Linked DNA regions of Homo sapiens: all the other regions are linked to region 1. Evidence: promoter capture Hi-C in 16 types of primary human blood cells and fetal thymus (Javierre and others, 2016). All regions are on one chromosome and are shown on one strand. The core of a region is centred on a gene start or on the middle of the fragment in contact, and the rest is flanking DNA. Distances in the headings are between cores, read along the strand shown. Region 1 holds the start of ELAC2 (elaC ribonuclease Z 2). Region 2 overlaps SCO1 (synthesis of cytochrome C oxidase 1). Region 3 overlaps MYH3 (myosin heavy chain 3). Region 4 overlaps PMP22 (peripheral myelin protein 22). Region 5 overlaps TMEM220 (transmembrane protein 220).

The links. Contacts are between HindIII fragments. The CHiCAGO score rates a contact against its expected background, and 5 or more counts as called.
Region 2: a fragment that was not itself captured here is called in contact with the fragment with the promoter of ELAC2 in region 1 in 1 of 17 cell types (neutrophils); the score reaches 14.3 in neutrophils.
Region 3: a contact is called between a fragment that was not itself captured here and the fragment with the promoter of ELAC2 in region 1, in 1 of 17 cell types (neutrophils). The highest score is 6.1, in neutrophils.
Region 4: a fragment that was not itself captured here is called in contact with the fragment with the promoter of ELAC2 in region 1 in 1 of 17 cell types (monocytes); the score reaches 6.6 in monocytes.
Region 5: a fragment that was not itself captured here is called in contact with the fragment with the promoter of ELAC2 in region 1 in 1 of 17 cell types (neutrophils); the score reaches 5.6 in neutrophils.

Annotation. Positions count from the first base shown.
Region 1 is chr17:13,016,740-13,019,489 of GRCh38, reverse strand. ELAC2 (elaC ribonuclease Z 2) reads left to right here and starts at 1,463. Exons shown (of 24, transcript NM_018127.7): 1 at 1,463-1,787; 2 at 2,369-2,419; 3 at 2,558-2,628. The coding sequence starts at 1,543. RefSeq lists a silencer at 1,346-1,425 and enhancers at 1,946-2,005, 2,026-2,135, 1,647-2,147. The HindIII fragment of the contact is 8,738 bases long and covers 1-2,750 here.
Region 2 is chr17:10,684,191-10,686,955 of GRCh38, reverse strand. It overlaps SCO1 (synthesis of cytochrome C oxidase 1), which reads left to right. Exons shown (of 6, transcript NM_004589.4): 5 at 114-229. Among named protein-coding and RNA genes, the nearest start is that of SCO1, 12 kb to the left of the region's middle. The HindIII fragment of the contact is 3,317 bases long and covers 1-2,765 here.
Region 3 is chr17:10,644,313-10,647,012 of GRCh38, reverse strand. It overlaps MYH3 (myosin heavy chain 3), which reads left to right. Exons shown (of 41, transcript NM_002470.4): 11 at 981-1,084; 12 at 1,168-1,306; 13 at 2,311-2,429; 14 at 2,513-2,662. Among named protein-coding and RNA genes, the nearest start is that of MYH3, 12 kb to the left of the region's middle. The HindIII fragment of the contact is 2,109 bases long and covers 258-2,366 here.
Region 4 is chr17:15,240,159-15,242,858 of GRCh38, reverse strand. The region is part of intron 3 of PMP22 (peripheral myelin protein 22); the gene reads left to right. Among named protein-coding and RNA genes, the nearest start is that of MIR4731, 10 kb to the left of the region's middle. The HindIII fragment of the contact is 1,819 bases long and covers 502-2,320 here.
Region 5 is chr17:10,713,747-10,716,446 of GRCh38, reverse strand. TMEM220 (transmembrane protein 220) reads left to right here. Exons shown (of 6, transcript NM_001004313.3): 6 at 859-2,700. The coding sequence ends at 994. It also overlaps the pseudogene MAGOH2P. Among named protein-coding and RNA genes, the nearest start is that of TMEM220-AS1, 15 kb to the left of the region's middle. The HindIII fragment of the contact is 7,044 bases long and covers 1-2,700 here.

The DNA of each region.
Region 1 (2,750 bases), core at 214-2,713:
TTTCCTGACCCTCACTGGGATGGTTATTTCAAGTACAAAACGTTTTCACACCGTGGGTGATAATCTTCCATAAAAAATTTCATATTTGAATGAAAACAGCTCAAGAAATACACTAATGAGCAAAAATATATGGGGAAAGAGGAACGTGTAGTTTTGACTTAACTGAAGAAACCAAGAGGAAACTGGTCTCCATATGAAAATGTGATCCTGGAAAGTCAGGTGTCAAGATTTTCGAGTAGGAATCTACATGACTTGAATCTCCCTTACTTCCTGAATAAAAGTGACATCTTTCAGTATTTATTTAAAAAAATCATATGTCAGTGGAGCTTCCAGGTAAATTATCTTTAAAAAATCATATTTGAGTGGAGCTTCCAGGTAAATTATCTTCCTCTTTTAAGGGAGCTCCCTGTATTTCTAGCGGCTTTAACTGATATCCCTTTCAGTGAGAAATCCTCATTAGCTACATAAGAGGGGACTGGGTGTTTTTTTCAAAAAGCTGGTATTGGGACATCTACCTCTGTGATGTCCCTGGTCAGCTATATTGTCTAGGAGTTGAAACATTTTGTATTAATTTTCTATCATTTACTGGGTGCCTCTTCTGTGACAGTGCCACTCAAAGGTCTATTGATATATTATCAGGTGACTGAATTCTATATTCTGAAGTAGGAGATACTGTTATTGCTGTTATTACATTTTACACATAAGAAAGCTGAGGCTCTGAGAGGTCAAGATCACGCAGCTAACAAATGAGCCAAGACTCTTGCTTTAGAGCTTGTCCTCTATTCTTGCTTTTCTTTCCAAAAAACACTACAATTTTTGTTTTGTTTTGTTTTGTTTTGAGACAGGGTCTCGAGGTGTCACCCAGGCTGGAGTGCAGTGGCGCGATTTCGACTCACCGCAACCTCCGCCTCCGCGCTTAAGCGATTCTCCTGCCTCAGCCTCCCAAGTAGCTGGGACTACAAGCTCGGGACACCACGTAAAAATGATCAAGTTCTAACATGTATGCATACGAATTACAATGGAAATAAAATTAGCAAAGCGCTTATGCTAATGCTCAATACAATTGATTTCCTCACATTTAATCCTCACAACCACTACAACCACCTCTAACTCAAGCTCTGAGGGACTGACGTGCCCGGAGGACACAGCTCTTATCTGGTGAGAACAGGAGCGTTTTAGCGAAACTCCAAACTCCTAGGTCCCGCCTTCCCCAGGAAGGCTTTTCCTGGCACTGTGCTTCCGGAAGTCCCGCCCCAGGAGAAAAACAGCTTCCGGAAAAAATTGCGGCCGGCAAACCGGAACAGAACTAGGGGCGGGGCCGCTTGAGACGCTCTAGTATTCCTCTACTCTATGGCCACTGTCAATTGACAAGTCCCGAGCGGTAAAGCTCCTTTCTATTGGATGAGCAGCCTCGCGTAGGCGGGAAGCTCGGTGCACGGCGCGCTGATTGGCTGGATCCGCCATGCGGAGCGGCTAGGTGGTGCACGGGAAACGCGGGCGTAGGTGACCGGCGGCTTTCTCAGTTTTGGTGGAGACGGGCGCATGTGGGCGCTTTGCTCGCTGCTGCGGTCCGCGGCCGGACGCACCATGTCGCAGGGACGCACCATATCGCAGGCACCCGCCCGCCGCGAGCGGCCGCGCAAGGACCCGCTGCGGCACCTGCGCACGCGAGAGAAGCGCGGACCGTCGGGGTGCTCCGGCGGCCCAAACACCGTGTACCTGCAGGTGGTGGCAGCGGGTAGCCGGGACTCGGGCGCCGCGCTCTACGTCTTCTCCGAGTTCAACCGGTCAGTCAACGAGCCACGCCCCGTCCCGCTGGGCCCTCAGTGCGGCGCAGCCTCTGAGCATCGGGGCACCTCCCAGGGCTTCGGCTTCCCTGCTTCACACATGTGGTTCACTGTTGCGGGGGTTCGTGGAGTTATGGTGGGTGGGAAATCCGAGATTCTTTGCATCCATGTGATTTCTGCGGATCTGTGAAGAACTTCAGGCCTGGGTCTGAGCGTCCTTTTCCCAACCCTTGGGCCCCGGCCTGGCTGTCAGCACTTTCGGAGCTCCACCCTCTTCCGTGCACCCCAAGGCCAGTGTGTCGTTGTTAGCGTGTGGGGTGGACAGATCTGGTGTGTAGCCGGTGGTGGAGAAAGGACTCATTTTGTCCTAGCACCCACACACACAGGCCCCCACTCCTCTCCACCTCTGCTAAGGAGGGCTCAAAACCCACCAGCATAAATGTGGCTCGGTAGTCCAACGTGGACTTTTAATTTTTTTTTCTTTTTTTTTTTTCCAGAGTCTACAATAAAACATCTAATTGGTGTCAGAGAGTTTACAGAATAAAACCTTCTGAATGTCTTGTGTAATGTTTGTCTTGTAGGTATCTCTTCAACTGTGGAGAAGGCGTTCAGAGACTCATGCAGGAGCACAAGTGAGTCAGTCTCTTGCTTTCGGAGGGGGAGTTGATTACGGGGCTTGAAAGCCGAAATGAGAGGCCAGTTGTTTTTTATAGCAAAAGTGGTCCTTGTTCTGTTCATGTTATCCTGTTTAAATGTTTTTTCATTCTTAGGTTAAAGGTTGCTCGCCTGGACAACATATTCCTGACACGAATGCACTGGTCTAATGTTGGGGGCTTAAGTGGTGAGTATATTCTTTGCAGTGTCAGAGGCTGGTGGGAAGTCTCTGGGATTTTAACCGGCTTTACCATTTTTCCAAGTCTGGGGTGGGCAGCTACTTTTTTTTTTTTTTTTTTTTTTGTCAGT
Region 2 (2,765 bases), core at 208-2,707, 2.3 Mb after region 1:
TCACAGGAAGAAAGTGGCAGTAGAGCTGCTTTACAACTGATACATTTTTTGAAGTAGAGATGGTTGTTTTACTGGCTTCTCATTTTTCACTGTCTCTCTCATTTTTTATTTAGAATTTTCTCCCAAACTGGTTGGCTTGACTGGCACGAGAGAAGAGGTCGATCAAGTGGCCAGAGCATACAGAGTGTATTACAGCCCTGGCCCCAAGGACGAAGATGAAGACTACATAGTGAGTAAATGTTCCAGTTTTAACCCATGGACCAGCTCCCAGATCCCAAATAGTCATAAGGCTTTCAATGACTGACTAGCTTCTGAGAAGAGAGAATACCTAAGATTATTGCAAAGTCCTTAGGAATTTTTTTTTTTTTTTTTTTGAGATGGAGTCTCATTCTGTCATCCAGGCTGGAGTGCAGTGGCACAATCTTCGCTCACTGCAACCTCCGCCTCCCAGATTCAAGCAATTCTCCTATGTCAGCCTCCCGAGTAGCTGGGATTACAGGTGCGCGCCACCACACCTGGCTACTTTTTTATATTTTTTGGTAGAGACGGGGTTTCACCACGTTGGCCAGGCTGGTCTCGAACTCCTGACCTTACCCGCCTCAGCCTCCCAAAGTACTGGGATTACAGACGTGAGCCACCGCATCCAGCCTCCTTAGGAATTTTGAATATTTGAAAGGATAATAGAAGCATGTTTTTTACTTTTTATTTATTTTCGAGACGGAGTCTCACTCCGTCAGCCAGGCTGGAGTGCAGTGGTGCGATCTTGGCTCACTTCGACCTCCGCCTCCCGGATTCAAGCAATTCTCCTCCCTCAGCCTCTCGCGTAGCTGGGATTACAGGCATGTGCTCCCACGCCTGGCTAGTTTTTGTATTTTTAGTAGAGAAGGAGTTTTGCCATGTTGGCCAGGCGAGGCCAGGGGGTCTCGAATTCCTGACCTCAGGTGGTCTGCCCTGCCCACCTCAGCCTCCCAAAGTGCTGGGATTACAGGCCTGAGCCACTGCGCCCAGCCAGAAGCAGTTTTTTAAAAGATGATTGTTTGATTTATATTCACTGTTCTCATAATTCAATTGCCTGTTTTTCTCTTATAGTGGCATATAGGATTTTAGGGCAGTTTAAAACCAGATACTTGGGTGCCATGTTGGAAATAAAGAGAAGCCATCATTTGGAACAACACTTATTTTAAAAAGATTGTGTTGGTTCTCACTGTGTCCCCAGTAGAGGTATCAGAAATTGCTCTTCTGGAGAACCAGTTTTAGGCCATGGAGAACTGCATTTTTAGGTTGAATGAGAATTCTGAAAAGCAAAAGATGAAAGGTTTATTTGCCCATTGACTATATGCCTTGGACAGTTAGGCGTTAAATATGTGCTTTTTAATGATAAGGAACAGAAATTCTGTTGTACTTGTGTAGCTCTTAAATTAACTATCTTCATATTCATCAGCACTGCCCCAGAAGCCTTAAGGTCATGCCCAAGTTACTGTGTTTCTTTTCTTGTCAGTGGTTTCACAGTGAAGCACCAAAAGGCATTAGCACCACCACTATCCACCAATTTTCCTCTCAATTTGGACATTTTTCTCCTATCATATGAAGAGTCGGCGTTGTATTTTAGCATTATTTCAGTATTTTTCTTAGTTGTCATACTCTGTTTTTTCTATAATATTGTTTGGGCAGAGTAATCCTAAGAGCCTTTCTAGCTGTGAAGCTGTCTTTGTAGAAAGAAAGATGGCCAAGACCCTGAGTCACTGATCCAGCAGCTCCCCATGGCCCATCCCAAGAGTTGAGATGCAGAGGGGATGGGATGTCTCACTGCAGTGCTTTGTCTCAACAGCCAACTATGATTTCTTTGTCCCTTTGAACCTGGAACGTGTGTGCCCCTGGAGCCTACAGCCTGAATTAAAAGCAAGGTTCTGGCCTGTTTGCCTTAATTAAGCCTACACAGTAATCCTGTCTTCCAGATGTGGTGCCTCGTAGAATTAGGGAAACTTGGATTCCTTGGAGTAAAAGATGAGAAAAATGAGCACTTTTCTTTAAGCCTTAATTGTAAGGAAAGTAGAGGGACCCTCCTCTGTTTTCCTCTTGCTGCTTCTCTAGCAGAATGAGAGAAGAGCAGAGAGCCACAGTGGCCAAAAGAGGAAACCATAGGAAAAGGACTTTCCGGACTTCTGTCTTTATAGAGAGTTGTATTAACTGGTTTTGAGTTTATCCGATGATGACAGCAGGAATAGATGAGCTCATCAGTCTGATTTCCAGCATTAAATGAGTTATATTAAATTGTTTAAATGTATACAGTCCTAAACTAGGTAACACTCCATAGTCTTGATGCTTAGAACTCATAACTCAGAGTCAGAAAGTCAAATCAGAAAGCAGTTGTACAAATAAACCCAAACAGCCTGCAAAACTTAAATTGAAAACATTCAGTTACATTGACAAGAGATTTTGCTGAAACCAAAGTGCTGCTCAGGGCAAGAAGGGAGGGGGTTTTGGTCAGACTGCTATCACATACCCAACTCTACTCAACTGCCCCTCTGCATTTTCTATTTAAAATACTTTGAAACCTTTAATCGTGTAGCCTGCCTTGCCTGGTTAGTGTTGATTTGGCAAGAATGTATCATATTCATGTCTGCCTGTAACAGCAGTGGGCAGCTAGGTGCCAGTGAGATCATGGAGCAAACACAAGCCTGGGCACTGAAATTTATACTCACAACACAGATAATCCAGAATATGGATATTAATGTTTTTAATTACAAATGAAAACAAAAATATGT
Region 3 (2,700 bases), core at 63-2,562, 2.4 Mb after region 1:
AGTGGCACAAGCACAGCTCACTTGTAGTCTTGACCTTTCTGGGTTCAAGTAATCCTCCAGCCCCAGCCTCCCGAGTGGCTGCGACTACAGGTGCATGCCCCCACACCAGGCTACCTTTTGTGTTTTTTGTAGAGATGAGGTTTCACCATGTTGCCCAGGTTGGTCTTGAACTCCTGGGCTCAAGCAATTTGCCCGACTCGGCCTCCCACAGTGCTGGGATTATAGGTGTGAGCCACTGCACTTTGCCAGGAAAAGCTTATTTTAGAAATGGGATGTGGCTATCTGGGCAGTGACATGCCAATTTGAAAACCTAATCAAATGGAGGGCAACAAGATTAGACCACTCCTGACCAGCTCTGGTTTATAAAAACCTTCTGAGCAACTGAACACCTAACTGTCCTTTGGCGCCCCCTTGTGTTCTGGCACAGAAACAACCTATGGCCAAATGCGACGCCAAAGCAAACAGAATAATCAAGCCCACGGAGGCACTGCACACTGCCCCTTGTCTGCCCCTCACAGAGGTCTCCATGCACACTGCTTCTTTGCTCTTTGGCTGTATTTGCTCAGCCTTCTGGTCTCCAGCTTGGAAACAGGCTGCTGCTTTTCAACAGATTTTAGAAAAGGCTATGATTATACCAAACCACCTGGGTTGGCTCTCGTCCTGACCCGCACTCAGCCAGTTTTCCCTATTAACTTCTCCCAGCCGACACTGATATGCACCATTAGCGTGCAAGGCAAGGGAATTTAAAGGTTCTCTCTAGGGTCCTTCATCTCCATTGTGTGGGAGACTGAAAAGTCTTCCCTGGACTATATTTTCCATGACAGCCTGAGTATTGTGGAACTGTCTAAAAGATTTTTAATTCTAAGTTCAATTTAGGATCCAGCGGTAAAAGTTCCAGCCCAGGGTGCAGGAGCTCAAGTCCACTGGGTGGGTTTTTTCTTTGCATCTGCATAACCTCCTGGAACTATTTGTCATTTCAGAGCTGCTGCTTATTACGACCAACCCTTACGACTACCCGTTCATTAGCCAGGGGGAGATCCTGGTGGCCAGCATAGATGATGCAGAGGAGCTGCTGGCTACAGACGTAAGTGGAACCAACAGAAGGGGTGGGTGTTCCTCCTCCATCACTGGGGCCAACTGACTGACGTGCTGCCCTTTCCATGCCAGAGCGCCATTGACATCCTGGGCTTCACCCCAGAAGAGAAATCTGGGCTCTACAAGCTGACGGGAGCCGTGATGCACTACGGGAACATGAAGTTCAAGCAGAAGCAGCGAGAGGAGCAGGCCGAGCCGGATGGCACAGAAGGTACAAAATCAGTGTGACAGCAAACCAGAGCGGGTGGCTGATCTGCTGAGGTCACTTGGTACTGCTTTTGAAAGCAATTAATCCAGCCAGGCACAGTGGCTCACACCTGTAATCCCAGCACTTTGGGAGGCTGAGGGGGCCAGATCACCTGAGGTCAGGAGTTCGAGACCAGCATGGCCAACATGGTGAAACCCCATCTCTACTAAAAAAAATTAGCTGGGCATGGTGGAGCATGCCTATAATCCCAGCTACTCAGGAGGCTGAGGCACGAGAGTCAGACAGAGTTTTGCTCTGTCATCCAGGCTAGAGTGCAGTGGCATGATCTCAGCTCACTGCAACCTCTGCTGCCTGGGTTCAAGTGATTCTCCTGCCTCAGCCTCCCGAGTAGCTGGGATTACAGGCACACACCACCGCGCCTGGCTAACTTTTTTGTATTTTTAGTAGAAACGGGGTTTCACCATGTTGGCCAGGCTCAAACTCCTGACCTCAAATGATTCGCCTGCCTTGGCATCCCAAAGTGCTGTGATTACGGGTGTGAGCCACTGTGCCCTGCCGGCATGAGAGTTTCTTGAACCCAGGAGGCAGAGGTTGCAGTGCACTGAGATCGTGCCACTGCACTCCAGCCTGGGCAACACAGTAAGACTGTCTCAAAAAAAAAAAAATGGATGGAAGCGATTAATCCTTCCATCTGGAGAAGTGAATGACCCTTTCTGGGCCTCCGATGCCCATAGCTATTGTTACCACTCGCTTTTCCTGAATCACTCGAATAGTCTTGTTTCAGATGCAGTGAGGGATGACCAGGGCTTTCTGAGACCCAGCCCTGGCTTTTCATAAAGTCCATTATATTCTCTGAGTGACTTAGCTTCCATTGGCCATGTATATGCAGTTTAGCCACAGGGAATGCACAATGTACCAAGATGAACTTAACCAACCTTTGAAACTTCTGGATGATTTTCAAAGCAGCTCTTCTACTTTTCTAAGCACTGTCCTTGTTTTCTTGCCAGTGGCTGACAAAACAGCCTATCTGATGGGCCTGAACTCTTCGGACCTCCTAAAAGCTTTGTGCTTTCCTAGAGTGAAAGTTGGGAATGAGTACGTTACCAAAGGTCAAACTGTGGATCAGGTAACAGCTTCAAGGCCGGGAAAGGGTGCAGGACCCTGCTGGCCACTTCCTTCATATCCAGTAGCTGATCTTTCCCCTGATAGGTTCACCATGCTGTGAATGCTCTTTCAAAATCAGTTTATGAAAAGTTGTTCTTGTGGATGGTCACTCGCATTAACCAGCAACTGGATACGAAGCTTCCAAGACAACACTTCATTGGTGTTTTGGACATTGCAGGCTTTGAAATCTTTGAGGTTTGTGTTACTTATATTCATATTTTCATATGGCTTCA
Region 4 (2,700 bases), core at 162-2,661, 2.2 Mb before region 1:
AGGTATATGTTGAGCCTACATCATTTCTGCTTCTATATTTATTGAGATATTCTTTGTTGCCCTTATAGTCAGTTTGAAAAGCTGTCCCATGTGTGTTTGAAAATAACTTTGCTATATAGACACAAGTTTTCTATACATCTATTAGGACAGATTTGTTAATCCTCTTATGTAATCTATATTCTTTCTTCTTTTTGGTCTACCTGACATCTATTTTGAGGAAGGAAGCTAAAGTCTTCTACTGTTATTGTGATTTTAACAATTTCTTCTCATATTTTGATTACTTTTTGATTTTAACTTTTTCAGGCCATGTTATTATATGCATAATGATTTATTTTCTTCAGTCATAGATCATGTAAACCAGAAGTAAAGATCAAATAAACCAAATCTTTCCTCTATGAAACAACCAAACAACTCTCTGGCCACTTTTATCCTTTCAACATAAGTTCTATTTTTTATTATTAATTTATCTTCTTTCTTTTTTGTTAACATTTGCCTGAAGCTTCTTTTCAGAATCTTTTTTGTTTTTGACTGTTGCTTGTTTTAGGTGTATCTATTATATTAGAATATAGCTACAATGTCTCTCTTTTTTTTTTTTTTTTTTTTTTTTGAGACAGAGTCTCTCTCTGTGCCCAGGCTGGAGTGCAGTGGTGTGATCTTGGCTCACTACAACCTCCACCTCCTGAGTTCAAGCGATTCTCTGCCTCAACCTCCCAAGTAGCTGGGACTATAGGTGTCCACCAGCACACCTGGCCAATTTTTTTGTATTTTTCGTAGAGATGGGGTTTTGGCATGTTGGCCAGGCTGGTCTTGAACTCCTGGCCTCAAGTGATCTACCTGCCTCAGCCTCCCAAAATGTCTTAATCAAAGATAAAATTCCATATCTTATGAGTGCCTTGAACCCATTCACATATAATGTGGTTGATGATAGACTTACTATCTTAATGCATGTGTTTTATTTATTGTGCTTATGGTTGAAAACCATCTTCTTCATCTCTGGATCATCAGAGTCAACCAGAGGGCTTGGCTCAAAGCAGTAGGTATTCAACAAATGCTCATTGAATAAAAATGTCCTTGATCCTCTAATTCTGATTTGATTCGAGAAATAACTTATGGCAAAGAGCTCAATTGTAATGGGGTTGGGACTAAAATTCAAGTTAATGTTGAAAGATGTTTCAAGAAGTATTTAGGTTATATTATTAAATATTAGACACTTTCTGTTTATATAGATTTAACATATAAAGATTTTAAGTTTTCTGTGTATGTGAGGTCTCGTAGTAGTTTCTGCTGAAAATGACAGGGGCGCGGGGTTAAGGGTGAAGACAGTATCTCAGGATTGGAGAAGGAAATCTAAGATATTGTCTCCACCAGCCATACTCCTCATGAACATGCACATGGAAGGACATTTCCCAGCCAAAGTGAATCCCTTTATTTGTTTTAGTTTCAGATTTGAGTCTCAGATTTCTTTGTAATTCCAGCTGCATCTACCAAAGTGCTAGATAATTTTTTTATTTTAAGCAAACAATATTATGAGAACATTATCTTTATTGCAAAGTGCTCCTCCAGAAGAACCTCTATGCTGGATAAAGACAAACATTTGATTAAGGTTATGTAAGAGTGAAATCAGGATGGCTCACAACCCATTAGCCGTCATTTTCTTACTTTAATTGACAAAGAAATTGAAAAAATGAAAGAAGCATATGTTGTGCTTGAATGTGAAGAGTGCTAGACTAGAATCAAAGGCCTCTTAGATTTGGCTGTGTCATTTGGGCTCATGAAAACACCTCTGGAAATCTCTTTCAGTGCAAAGGAGCTGGACTAGTTGATCTCTCAGGTTTCTTCCAACTCTAAAATATCTCCAGTCTGTGCCTTGGAAACATCTTAGGTGAAAATCTAGGAACAGTTAACCTAATTTGCACCCTTAAAATTCTGCCATGAGCTGCTTACAACTCAAAACAAGTTTATCTTACTCAGTTACTAATTATAAACCATCCAGATTTCAGAGCTGTGAGTACTGGGTGAAGCATTGAAGGTATGCTTTTGAAGCCATTACATATGGCAGTTACTGAGCTGAAAGGATTAAATGCTGCAGCTTCCCCAGTTGCCCTTCCTCCATGAGAGCAGTGCCTGCCCCCAGCATTCTGTGGCACTTGGAAGACAAGACAGAGGCCAAATGCAGATTTTTACCCTGGGCTTCCCTCTACAGTGTGGAACTCAGGTTGTTTCTTCTTTCCTCCCTGAAATGACATGAGTTTGCAGCGGATGGTGAACTGAAGAAACCATAGGAGGCTCTGTCTTCTTGCCTGAATTTCAGTTGGAAGCTTGGAGATTTGGGGTTCAACAGAGATAAGGAAGTGTAAGCCTTCATCCCGTCTGGTGGTTGGCGATCACACACCGCTCTGTGCTGAGGCTAATGGCCATGATCAGAGTTGACCAAAAAAAAAAAAAAAAAAAAATACGGGTTGTCCAAGCAAATTGATTTCCATACCTATAGAGAGCATACCTTTCTTCATCAGTATTTTCTTCCATTCTTCCAAAAAATTACTTTGGGCTCTAACAGCCATTCCCGTGATCTTTACCTCTCCTTGGGGAATGCAGATAATTTGAATAGTGGTTTTAAGCTATTTTTCTTGGAATACAGAAGTTCTGATAAGCCCTTCAAAGACCCCTGAGGGCAAGAAGAGGGAAGGTAGTAGGCAGGGC
Region 5 (2,700 bases), core at 172-2,671, 2.3 Mb after region 1:
GAGTTTGAGTTCTGACCGGACGGGAAATTAAGATAAGCCAACACAGCAATTACAAGAATGATGTCATGATCAGAAAAGAGGCTTATGTACATAAAAGTATGATGGAGGAACTGAAGAGTATAATTGATGACAGTGAAATTACCAAAGAGGATGATGCGTTATGGCCTCCTCCCAACCGAGAGGGCCGGCAGGAGCTTGAAATCATTATTGGAGATGAACACATTTCTTTTACAACATCAAAAATTGGTTCCCTTATTGATGTCAGTCAATCCAAGGATCCAGAAGGCTTATGAGTATTTTATTATCCTGTCCAGGACCCTGAAGTGTTTGGTCTTCAGTCTTACTGGATTACACTTCAAGATTAAACCAATCTAAACTGAATATTGATGTGGACATGGGGGGGTGGGAGTAGTTTTTAATTACCATTATCAAGAACATTTTGTGTCAGGGCAGTATATTTTTATAAACTATAAATGATTATCTTTAATAAATATGTGATAAAATTTAAAAAAAGCAAAACAAAACTTCTAGAGAATACCTTCAAAACCTTGGTGAGGGAAATTCTTAAACAGCACAAAAATCATTAGGAAAAGATCAACTTTAACATTGTCAAATTAATCAATGACTTCTCTTCCTCAAAAGACATCAAATGGGACAAGGTATTTGTAACACATATAAACAAGGATTTATATTTAGCATATATATAAATAATTTCTATAAATCAATGTTATATTTCAATAAAACAACTGAGATGAGAACATACTAAAATGTAATTATGTGTTTTATCAATTCAGTCTTTATACTTGTTTCCAAAGCAATCCATGATTTTTATTTATAATAATTTTTGTGTCTTTATAGGAATCCAGTTGGTGGAAGAATTCAATTGGCTATTGCCATTGTAATCACACTTTTCCCATTTATCTCATGGGTCTACATATATATTAACAAGGAAATGCGGTCCTCTTGGCCAACTCACTGCAAGACAGTAATTTAAATAAATTCAAGAACTTCGTTTTTAAAATGAATATTTTCAATCAATTTTTTATAAACATTAGGGGAACAAGCCAGGAGTTTATTTCAGGTAATTTGGGCTAATAGTTTTAAAACTCCAAATAACTTTTTAAGGGTGCATATAATTCGATGTAAGATTGGATGGGACAAGTAAGAGATGGTCTGATATTTTCCAGACGACTTTCTGCAGGGTCTTGTGTCATAATGTAGTGGAAAAGGCTAGAGAATAGAAGTTTAAAAATACGAGTTCTAACTTAACTTTGTAACTATGTAATTTGGGCAAATATATAAACCTCCTGGTGGATATTTATCTATAAAATAGGATTAATGCCAGATCTACTTACTTACACAGTAACAAGGATCAATCTAGATAATGTAAGAACACTCTGAAGATATAAAGTGTTTGGAAAGATTACGGAGGGCTGCCCATGATTAAAATAGAGGGGAGCAGGGATTGGGTAATATACTGAAATAGACATTCAAGAGAGGGCTATACCCCGATCTTTTTTTTTTTTTAAGACAGTCCCACTCTATTGCCCAGGCTGGAGTGCAGTGGCATGATCATGGCTCACTGCAGTCCTGACCTCCCGGGGCTCAGGTGATCCTCCTACCTCAGCCTCCCAAGAAGCTACGACTACAAGTGTGCACCACCATGCCCGGCTAAATTTTTTTAAATTTTTTGTAGAGGCAGGGTTTCACCGTGTTGTCCAGGCTGGTCTTGAATTCCTGAGTTCAAGCGATCTGTCCACCTTGGCCTCCCAAAGTGCTGGGATTACAGGTGTGAGCCACCATGCCCAGTCCAGCCCTAAACTAATCTTATCCAGAGCTGGCATAGTGCAGTGAACTAAAGGAGAACTCTAGATGAATCAAATGAGCAGGCATGTCTTGGAAAGAAAGGGAAGCTGGATAGAATAAAGGAATTAGGGACCAAACAAGAAGGCAATAGGGACTATAACTACATTCTAAATGAGAAATAAGGTCAAAATCTATATACATTCTTTATAAATGGATGTCCAAAGTAATCCTAGGGAGGAGAGCTTTTTTTTTTTTCATTTCCATTTTCATTTAAAAATGGATACTTGATTATTGGAAAACTTACAATTGTGTTTGGAACAACTTGGGTATTTGAATCTAATTTTCCAATTGCAAATTTTATGATACCTAAATACAGATAAAGTATTTCCAATGAAAATTTAGTGTCCAAATGAGTGGGGCTATAAATGTAAAATACACTGGATTTTAAAGACATGGTAGAAAAAGAACAGAAAATATTTTTTGTATTGATTACATGTTGAAACAATATTTTGGCTATAATGGGTTAAATATACTATTAAAGTTGATTTTATCTGTTTCTGTTTACTTTTATTTACGTGGCTTACATTGCATTTCTGTTGGACAGTCCTGTATTTAAGTATCTAGATGGCAACATTTTACATACACAAGCATCAAACTCTGTGGTCAGATACTGTTTTTTCTGATCTAGGAAAGAGATCTGGGAAATACTTCACTCAAAAAGAACGAGTAGTGCCTTCCACAGGTTAGGAGAGTGTAAATGAGTCTGGTAGTTTGTCTATTTTTATTGTCTTTATTACTATAGTAAATATTCTATAAATATTTGTTAAAGGAGGTATGTGTATTTTGTTTTTGTTATTGGCACAGTGGCCACTGAATGGTGAGAAATTATCTAAG